2 separate regions of the Homo sapiens genome follow, and region 2 is linked to region 1. The links are contacts of gene promoters, found by promoter capture Hi-C in blood cells and fetal thymus (Javierre and others, 2016). All regions are on one chromosome and are shown on one strand. The core of a region is centred on a gene start or on the middle of the fragment in contact, and the rest is flanking DNA. Distances in the headings are between cores, read along the strand shown.

Region 1 (5,341 bases), core at 1,863-4,362:
TTTTTTAAAATAGAGATTAAGGTCTCACTCTGCTGACCAAGCTGGTCTCAAACTCCTGAGCTCAAGGAGTTTGCCTTGACCTCCCAAAGTGCTGGGATTACAGGTGTGAGCCACCACGCCCAGCAGACATTTTTCTCTTGTGCCTGGGTTTATGGTGATTGTATACATGTGTGTCTGGCTCCCAGAGGGTGGGGACGGAGTGATACAAATTTTTGTGCCTCCACAGGGAACTTGCACGTGACCTAAATTCAATGACAAATTGGGGTTTGATTGAAAATGTGGAGGGGTGGAAATTTTCAATTCCACTGACCCCAGATGGGAGGATCTGAGCCCCTTTCCTTTAAACACCATCTTTCTCTGCAGCAGCTTTCAGGGCCAATAGTTACCATCACCAGGAATTCCAGACCAGCACAATAAATAGGGGCTGTGGTTTCTCCCTCTTTCTCCTTCAAAAAGTAACAGAAAAAAAATTAGCCGGGCATGGTTGCATGTTCTTGTTGTCCAAGCTACTGAGGAGGCTAAGGTGGGAGGATCACTTGAGCCCGGGAGGTCGAGGCTTCAGGGAGCCATGATCATACCATTGCACTCCAGCCTGGGCAACAGAGTGAGACCCTGTCTCGGAAAAAACAAAAAAACAGTAATGGAATATGGGCCAGGTATGTTGATTTGAACTGGAGTTTTACTGCTTCCCAGCAGTGTGACATTGAGCAAGTGTGGTAACCTCTACGAGCCAAATGGAGCTGGCATCAGCTGCCTCACCAAACAGGATTTACGGGAAAGGCTGGCGTGGAGCTGGGGCCCTGGGAGGCAGGTAGTTAGAATCCGTTTAAAGATTTTGCCTCAATTGCCTCCAGCTGCTGCTGTGCTTACAAGGCACACAAGTGCTCCCCCTCTGATCCCTCAGCAGGCAAAGACCAGACTCTGGAACACACCTACAGTGCTGCCTCTGGCCAGGCCTCTGAGATATGAGTCCAACATGCAGAGAAAGGGGCAAGTCCTTGGTGGGGGGAGGGGGACAGCAATTTCATTACCGCCATTTCAGAGGTGGCAGTATGGGTGGCTGACATACGTAAGTCTGATTGTTTGGACCAGAAGGATCTTCAGGGGTCCAGTCTTCCAGTTTACAGGTGTGGACATTGAGATCCAGGCACCTGATAATACCAGGTTGGCAGGAAAGTCAAATGCCAGAGGCTTCCATGGTCTCTACTTGTGTTTGGAGCAACAGAATTCTGAACAGAGTCAAAGGGATAAGGGGTCTTTCTGGCACAAGCTGGCCCAAGACCAGGCCTTTGACAGAGGCCTCAGACTCTGGGGGGCCCAAAAGCAGCCCTCCCTTGGGCTCAGCCTTCTGGATCCCATGGCCAGAGTAGTAGTTCTGCCGGCTAGGACTTGGTGAGGGGAGCTTTGAAGTCACTAGTTGAAGGTCACCTTCCTGGTCCAGCTCCACCTGGCAATGTTGACTGTGAGGTAGTGGAGGGGAGGGCTGAGAACACAGAAGAGAAAGGTTGCTCCTATTTGGAGTGAATTAGCGTGACTGGGAAAGCAGAGAAGGGAAAGAGGTCAGGTTTTTCCAAATAAAACCCAGCCCTCAGCTGGTGTCTTAGTTTAAGAAAACAGATGAAGAGAGAAACTTTGTTTGTGGCAGAATCAATTACAACTGTCTTTTGTGGCCAGGTGCAGTGGCTCACACCTGTAATCCCAGTGCTTTGCGAGGCCGAGGCGGGAGGATCATTTAAGCTTAGGAGCTGGAGACCAGCCTGGGCAACATAGTGAGATCCCCCCATCTCTATTTTTAATTAAAACAAACAAACAAACCCATCTTTTATATGCAAACAGGCAAAAATGGAACTGTTTCTACTGTGGCTGTTTGACTACTCTAGGGTCTCAGAAAACAACACCCCAAAATGCAGGCCTCAGGAGCAGCTCTCTCTGACCCTCTCCCTCCCTCCTGTCTTTGGCCCCTCACTCTCCTCCGAGGCCAGCCATAGAAACTGGAATCCTTCTTCCTCAAGGCAGGTCATAGAAACCAGAGCCCTTCTCCCCCAAAGCCAGACATCGAACCCAAAAATATTACTCTTTCTCCCACACATTTCTGGGTAAAAACTGGCCATAAATTATCTGACCTACCTTGTTTGCTTGCAGGTCCTAAGACCCCTCCATCCCAGAGAGAGTCCTGCCCCGTACTCAGAAGGAAGGAATGCTGCAGAGAAAGGTCAAGAAGAATCTACACGGACAGGACTTGCTGGGTTTCCCCACTCAGGTTATTGGCCTTCTGGTCCAATCATATTTCTTTTTTCGTGGTTTTTTTTTTTTTTTTTTGAGACGGAGTCTCACTCTGTTGCCCAGGCTGGAGTGCAGTGGCATGATCTCAGCTCACTGCAATCTCTGCCTCTCAGGTTCAAGTGATTCTCCCGCCTCAGCCTCCTGAGTAGCTGGGATTACAGGCGCGCGCCACCATGCCCGATCAATTTTTGTATTTTTAGTAGAGACAGGGGTTTCATTATGTTAGCCAGCCTGGTCTCGAACTCCTGACTTCAAGTGATCCGCCTGCCTCGACCTCCCAAAAGTTCTAGGATTACAGACGTGAGCCACCGCGCCCGGCCCAAAGTGAGATTTCAACTCTCTCTACACCAGCTGGACCTGACAGCGGACTCGCGGAGGCGCAGACGCCGCCGGCGGTCTTAGCTCAAGAATGAAGCAGCCGCACTGGGCTAATGCGCCTTTGGGTTCAGCCCGGCAGGCGAGGGAAGCAAGAGTTCGCTCAGATTGGCTTTTGGGTTTAAGCTAAAGCGTCAGAAACTGACATCCAGGTTTACATGGGGCATCCTGGAGAGGGTCAGCCTCGCAAGCGGCTCTGCTAATCCCCCAGCCCTGATCCCGCTCGCGGGTCCCGGTGGGTCTCACGCCTGTAGCTCCTGCGGAGCTGGGCTTTCAGCGGCGCCCAGAGAAGCACCAGCCGGGCCTGGCCGCCGGGTCCCGGCTCCCGCGGGACGCTGGAGGCGTCGGCGGCCCTGGCCCCGCCTCCTCCCCGGCAAGGCCCAATGGGGCGGCAGGCCCGGCAGCCCCGCCCCGGTGGTGCCCGCGCGGCCAGCGCCCGCCAGGCCCAGCGTTAGCCCGCGGCCAGGCAGCCGGGAGGAGCGGCGCGCGCTCGGACCTCTCCCGCCCTGCTCGTTCGCTCTCCAGCTTGGGATGGCCGGCTACCTGCGGGTCGTGCGCTCGCTCTGCAGAGCCTCAGGCTCGCGGCCGGCCTGGGCGCCGGCGGCCCTGACAGCCCCCACCTCGCAAGAGCAGCCGCGGCGCCACTGTGAGTGCCGCGCGGAGGGTCCAGGCAGGCGCGCGCCCCCAGCTGCGACGTGGCGGCTTCCCAGGCTGGGGCCGGGAAGCACGTCCCGCCAGCCCGCAGCCCGGGGACGGCGGGGTCAGGCGCACAAAGGGCCGCGGGGCAGCTTCGCTCCGCGCTCCCCCGCCCGGCGCTTCCCGGCCGTGCCAGGCGCTGGGGTGGGGACTTGAGGGACGGTGGCAACTGGTGGCCCGGGCGACGGCCAGCTCTGCGCGGGCGGGGGCTCGGGGCTGCCGCGCGCCCCTAGGTATTTCGGGAGGGGGTCCTGAGAGTGTCCCGGACCCGAAGGGTGGCCTGCCCGCCCTGCGCCCCTGGAACGAGACGAGCACCCGTGGGGGGCTGGAGCACCCCGCGCGCTCCCCTGGCGAGAGGGAGGGTCGTGGCTCGGCCCCTGCTCAGACAAAGGCTGGGAGGCGGGAGACATGCACTTCCCCTTCCTTTTCAGCCAGGCGCGCGCTGATACCAGGCCCACGTCAGCTATTTTTGGAGCCTTTTACACGACAGCTGGAGGAGCGTCCTTTTTAATTTTCCCCTTTTGTTTGGCCGCCCCCACCCCCACCCCTTCGCCTTCATCGCTGCACTTGAGGCTCCATCCTGGGGCCTCTCCTTGACTTGACCTGCCTTGGCAGGCACATGCCCTCCCTGCCTGGCTCACTCGCCGCAGAGACCTGGCAGCCCGCGCAAAATGTCACTTTGCGGAATCGTTCCCACGGCTTCTGGGTACCCTTAGTTCCCTGCTTAGGAGGGAAGACAGTAGTCGGGTCGTAATAAGCAAGACTTAGCCCGAGCCTCCGTTGCCAACGCAGGCTGCCTTGCTTGGCGTGTGGGCATCGGCCTGCCCCCTCACCCTGGCTACCCAACACAGCTACAAAAGGCAGGGAACAATGTAGGTCCCTTGGCCCTGCCTAATGCCTGTTGCCATGGAAACCCCTATCCTAATCTGGCCAGGAGCCCCTTGCAGTGAGCCAGGAGAGTGAGGAAGAGGGGATGGGGCCCGCTGGCCCTGACCTGGCCAGAGGAGGTAATGGTTAACCGGATTGTGGGAGCAGCTGACTAGAGCCGGGGGGGTAGGGAGGCTTGGGCCCCAGTCCTACCTTCCCTGCCAAGGAGAAAGGGGCATGTCTGCTTTTGTACCTCTGGGAATCTACCTCAGGGATCTGCCCAACAACTCCCAGGTTCCAAGTGCCCCAGGACCCAAAGATTCCCATATAGCACACCACCTTCAGCAAAAATATGGTGGAAGTTAGCCACATTCTTTAATTCTCCCTTTTTTTCTGCCTTGATGGTAAAAAAAAAAAAAAGAAACAAACAACCCGAAAAACACACACAAACAGGAACACAAAGCGCCTTTTAAGGGTCCTGAATTTGGATACAGAAAAAGCAGTCAGTTGCAGGCCCTTCTAGAAGTCCCCATGTGGGTTGGTTATGAATGGGGAAATTGCTTGGTGTTGGAGTTGGACATCAGACTCTACAGTTGCGACTCTGCCAGCTTGTTACCTGGCAACGCAGCTGGAGACAGAATACTTGGCATTCCCCTTGATGACAAGGAAAGAATATTTTGGGGCTAAAAGAGCCCCGTGTCTTTGCTGCCTGGTAATTCCTGCACGCATCTTTTCCTATTTTGCAACGCCATAGGCTTCCAGCGACTGCTGGTGATGTTTCTGGTAAGTTAGAGCTTGGGGCAGTGCGGACCAGTTCTGTGAACGGCTCAGTGGCAGAATTACTTATCTAGCCTTCCTTCACTCCTAACCCAGAAACTTCTTAATTCTTGCCCCTTAAGTGTGCAGATCTTTCTGCCACGTCAGATAAGGCCCTAGCTGCCCTGCCAGAGCTGATTGGGGTGGTTGTGTTTAGGCCTAGTAGGTACTGAGGAAAAGCCTCTTTGGAATGGCTGAGGCCTGCTCCCACATCTTCTGTGTGAAGTTGAGGGCCCTTGGGCTGGTTCCATTCAGGGTATGAGGTGCTGGAAACTGCTCTCAGATTACTGGAAGCCAGGGTCTG
Region 2 (5,341 bases), core at 1,741-4,240, 610 kb before region 1:
AAGTCTGACAATCAAGTCTTTTCTTAAAAGACTATGGCTTCCCAGATTAAGGAAAAACAGGCAAATGATAGAGAAGCTTTTCAAAGAACACTGAATTGGATATTGAAGGACAAGTGGAACTTTACAGACAGGACTGAGGTTGTGAAGAAGAGTAGTCTATGAACTAGTGGTACAAAGGCTGAGGTAGAATAGTATGTGTTAGCGATACAGAATGCTCAAAAGCCTCTGGTATCATGCCAAGGAGTTTAGATTTTATCCTACAGGTAGTGGAGACCCTTAGGGGCTTTCAGCACTGAAGTCCTAGGATTATTCTACGATTATCTTGGACCTCTTTATTCTATCCATTTTTCTCTTAGAAAAAAACACATATATATGTAAATTAAAATATATATGTATATCTTTTAATTTTTAATATTTCTTACATAAAGATACAGAAAATAGAATTACACCCATGTACCCACCAACCAAATTTAAAAAGTTAAACTCGGCCCTATTCTCTCTCTTTTAAAGGCATAAAACATTTCAGGTAGATTGACTGACGGACTCTCACTCTGTCACCCAGGCTGGAGTGCAGTGGTGCAATCTTGACTAACTGCAGCCTCCTGGGTTCAAGCGATTCTCGTGCCTCAGCCTCCCCAGTAGCTAGAACCACAGGCGCACACCACCACGCCCAGATAATTTTGTATTTACTATAGAGAGGGAGTTTCGCCATGTTGGTGAGGCAAGTCTCGAACTCCTGGCCTCAGGTGATTCGCCCGCCTCATCCTCCCAAAGTGCTGGGATTATGGGTGTGAGCCACTGTGCCTGGCCTCATTTCAGATATATTTAAAATCTCACTCATGGCCGGGCGCGGTGGCTCGCCTGTAATCCCAGCACCTTGGGAGGCGGAGGCAGGCGGATCACGAGGTCAGGAGATCGAGACCATCCTGGCTAACACAGTGAAACCCCGTCTCTACTAAAAATACAAAAAATTAGCTGGGCGTGGTGGTGGGTGCCTGTAGTCCCAGCTATTTGGGAGGCTGAGGCAGGAGAATGGCATGAACCCGGGAGGCGGAGCTTGCAGTGAGCCAAGATCGCGCCACTGCACTCCAGCCTGGGCGACAGAGCGAGACTCCATCCCCCAAAAACAAAAACAAAAACAAACTCACTCATTCCAGGAATGACTATGAAAAAGGAAAAAACAGATAAAAATTTAAAAATCAAAACAATAAACTATCACTCATTCCCCTTACCTTTTTCCCTTCCCTTCCTGCTCATAGGTAATACCACCTGTCCTGAAGCGGATGTGTAGAACTTCCCAGCATGATGATGTTCTACTGCACATCTAACACTTTTCCTGATTTTTTAACTCTTGGTTTCCTCAGTAAAACGAAGGAAATAACTACTTCTCCAGGTTACTGATAGGACTGTAAACTATACTTATAAGGTACCTGTCATGGTGAGTGGCATTGAAAGTGACACAGGACCCAGAAATTTCATTTCTTCCCAGTAGATTATAAGCTACTGTCTGACAGTATAAGCAGCCCAGCTAACAAAATGTTGATTTAATTAATTCTATTTACTATTCCCCAAACAGAATACTTTTGCCTACCCGCTTCTTCATCTTCTGATCTCTCATGCAGTCTCTCGAATTCCTGTCCCTTAATCTTGACAGTGACACACCAGTGTTATTTATCTGCATGGGTGGCACAAGGAGCTGTCAGTCACCTGCTCCATCTCACGCCATGAGGTACCTAAAGTTCTGTGTGACCTAAGGACAGGTGAGGGCTATAGGAGAAAGCCTAATGTTGTGGGACATACTTTAAAATCAGGCGCTTAGTTCAAATCCTGTATCTCTAGCACTTAATCACCAAATGCTCTTTCTGTACGGAGACAACCTCTTTGTACTTCAGATTCTCCATGTCTAAAATGGGGACAATTTCATCCGCTTCTCTGGGTAATGATAACAGAACCCTTACTGTGTACTATGTAACAGGTAGCCTTCGAAGCATTTATTATTGCATATATTAAGTCGTTTAATCCTAACAAAAACGCCAGGAAGTAGAAGAGACCATTTCCCCCATATGACAGACGAAAACCAAGACACTTAGTGTTTCAGTAACGTGCAGTAGACACAGAGCTAAATGTGAAGGAGCCAGAATTCGAACCCAAGCAATCTGATGCAGTATTCTTAAGCACTTCGCTTTGCTGGGATATCGTAAAGCTACAGTTGTAAGATCAAGGGTGCCAGGAACATGGCACACAGTAGACACTCAAAAACAAGAGTAGCCCAGCTCGTGATTATGGAAGGCCACAGAAAAAGTACAAAGTGTTTTCGTTGTTCCTCAGGAGGGACACGGAGGTAGTAGTGCCAGAGGTCTGGGCTGGGATTACTCTGTGCAGGGCATCATGTTACGCACTGGAGTATATGGGCAACAACATGCCAGGTCCTAGCCCATGCTCGGCCTCCGACGCCCCGGGAGACCTTGGCAGAGTTCGCCCCCGCCCCGGGCCTCTGTTTCCCCATTTGGGAACGTATTTATGTATCTGCTGTCCTCCCAGGATGTTGGCCAGACTAGAGGACTCAGCGGGCCGAGGCGAACCAGTGCAGGAAACGGAAGAACCCGAGCGGCCTCCAGCTCCGGGCCGGGCCGCCAGAGCAGGGCTAGATCAATGCGGACCGACCCGTAGTTACGCGCGCGGTACTCACCTCGCACGCAGACTCCTAGCGGACGGAACCAGGATCCAAACTTCCCGCGCCGCAACCACGGCCGCCGCGCCAAGCCCTGGCTCACTTCCCGCCGGAAGCTTGCCTATTCCGATTGGCTGCTTCCTGGGGAAGCCGACCAATACTGTCGCACTCGGACATCTGTTCCCGCCCCCTCAGGCTGCTGGGGCGGGGTCGCCGTACAGCGCCGGGAGGGACGCGTATCTCCAAAGCCCAATCAGAGTCCGGACGGGAGGGTCAGATGACTACGGTTACATCTCGGGCTTCCGGAGCTAGTTGGGTCTTTGTTTTTGGTGTTTTAGAGTCGGTGAAGGCTTTAAAGGAAGTAGGCAGCTGGAACCCGGCTGTGGCGGGTTGAAAAGCCCGGGCGTTTGAGAGCTGAGACTTGCCAGTTCCCACAGGCCAAGCCAGGCGTCTGCACCCCATTCTCTTGGTTCCGACGGTGTGTCTCTGCGATGTTTTGGCGGTCTCTCCTCTCCATCCCCTTAATAATACTGGTCTCTGTTTCACCCGTACCCCTCTACACGAGCAGGTGCAAATTGTCATTGAACCGGGAAAGTGGGCACACACTCAGATGCCTCCATGGACACGTGAGAAACCATGCTTCTGTTTCAGCCTATTGCTGACACGCGGGAATGTGGGCCCTGTGATGCCAGATCTTACTTTCTTTCCTTTCTTCCTCTCTTCTCCCCTCTCTACTTCCTTCCCTCTCTCCTTCCCTCCCGCCCTCCCTCCTCTTTGTGTGTGTGATAAAATCTATCTAACATAAAATTCACCATTTTTAAGTGTACAGTTCACTGGCATTAAGTACATTCACATTGTTGTGAAACCATCACCACTATCCATCTCCAGAACTTTTTCATTATCCCAAATAGAAAATCTGCCTGTTACACAGTAACTCCCCGTTACCCGTTTCTCACAACCCCTTATAGCCGATATTGCACTTTCTGTCTGTAAGTGCGAGGTACCGCATATAAATTGAATCATACAATAATTGCTCTTTTCTGATTGGCTTATTTCACTTAGCATAATGTCTTCAAGGAGCATCTATGTTGTAGCATGTATCAGAATTTCTTCCTTCTTGAGGCTAAATAATATTCCATTATACATGTATACTACATTTTGTTTATCCATTCATCCATATAAATGGATGCTTGGTTATTCCCACCTTTTGGCTATTGTGAATAATGCTGCTATGAACTTTGGTATACAAATAATCATTCTCCACATAATACGCAGAAAGAGTTTTCTAAAATGTAAAAATCTGTTCAAGTTACCTCCCTCCTGAAAATCTTCTATGGTAAATTGAAACCAAAATATGATACTATTAAACACTCCATAGAATAGCTGAAATGAAAAGACTGACAATTCCCTTAGTTGCAAAGATGCAGAAATGGGACTCTCATACAGTGTTGATGGGAGTGTAAAATGGTACAACCACTTTGGAAACATCAGTCTCTACTGAAATCAAATTTACCCCTACCCTATACCCCAGAAATCCCATTTCTAGATATTTACCCCAAAAAATGAATGCCTTTATTCACCAAAAGACTCATAGCAGCTTTATTCATAATAGCCAAAGGGAAAAAACCCAGATGTCCACCAATAGATGAATAGATAAATTGCAGCTTATTCATATAACTGTATACTACTGTTGAAGAATAATTTTAATATCAAATATAATACAGATATAAAATAAATGTTAGAGATTTTATTTAACTCATTAATGAATGAGATATCCAGAAAGATTACAACTGCTTCAATGGAAAATTCAAAGTACCACACACATAGTCAAATGAGGAATAATGAAATAACTACAAATATATACAAAAACTGGCAGAACTGATGAAATCCACAGCTTAGTAATCAATTGCATTCTACTGAAAACAATTTGCATTTCTTTTTTTTTTTTTTTTTTTGAGACGGAGTCTCACTCAGCCGCCCAGGCTGGAGTGCAGTGGCGCAAGCTCGGCTCACCGCAACCACCATCTCCCAGGTTCAATAGAGTCTCCCGTCTCAGCCTCCCGAGTAGCTGGGATTACAGGCACCCGCCATCATGCCCAGCTAGCTTTTTGTATTTTAGTAGAGACAGGGTTTCACCGTGTTGGCCAGGCTGGTCTCGAACTCCTGACCTCAGGTGATCCGCCTGTCTTGGCCTCCCAAAGTGTTAGGATTACAGGCATGAGCCACCGTGCCCGGCCACAATTTGCATTTCTATAGACAAGAAGTGTCTATAGTTTGTATAGTTGTTCTGTAGCTCAAAGACAGTGAAAGGTTTAGAGTCTTCATAGAATCAGACATCCTAGAAAAGTAAGCTGGACAGCTGGGCACCTTGTTTTTCAATGACACCCAGTAATCATTTTTTTGTTGTTTGTCTTAGATGGAGTCTTGCTCTGTCACCCAGACTGGAGTACAGTGGTGTGATCTCAGCTCACTGCAACCTCCACTTCCCAGGTTCAAGCGATTTTCCTGCCCCAGCTTCCCGAGCAGCTGGGACTACAGGTACGTGCCACCACGCCTGGCTAATTTATTGTATTTTTAGTAGAGATGGGGTTTCACCATGTGGTCCAGGCTGGTCATGAACTTCTGACCTCAGGTGATCTGCCTGCCTTGGCCTCCCAAAGTACTGGGATT

Evidence for each region. The method cuts DNA at HindIII sites, captures the fragments that hold promoters and counts their contacts. A CHiCAGO score of 5 or more calls a contact.
Region 2: the fragment with the promoter of CRTC3-AS1 here is called in contact with the fragment with the promoter of IDH2 in region 1 in 1 of 17 cell types (fetal thymus); the score reaches 5.2 in fetal thymus.

What each region holds. Positions count from the first base shown.
Region 1 is chr15:90,100,239-90,105,579 of GRCh38, reverse strand. IDH2 (isocitrate dehydrogenase (NADP(+)) 2) reads left to right here and starts at 3,112. Exons shown (of 11, transcript NM_002168.4): 1 at 3,112-3,304. The coding sequence starts at 3,190. IDH2-DT (IDH2 divergent transcript) reads right to left here and starts at 3,448. Exons shown (of 3, transcript NR_149130.1): 1 at 3,202-3,448; 2 at 2,128-2,200. RefSeq lists silencers at 2,902-3,361, 3,682-3,751, 4,242-4,331, 4,392-4,441 and enhancers at 2,976-3,830, 3,831-4,686. The HindIII fragment of the contact is 3,688 bases long and covers 1,740-5,341 here.
Region 2 is chr15:90,714,789-90,720,129 of GRCh38, reverse strand. It overlaps CRTC3-AS1 (CRTC3 antisense RNA 1), which reads left to right and starts at 2,990. Exons shown (of 4, transcript NR_120372.1): 1 at 2,990-3,149. It overlaps BLM (BLM RecQ like helicase), which reads right to left and starts at 2,784. Exons shown (of 22, transcript NM_000057.4): 1 at 2,690-2,784. The HindIII fragment of the contact is 2,609 bases long and covers 2,790-5,341 here.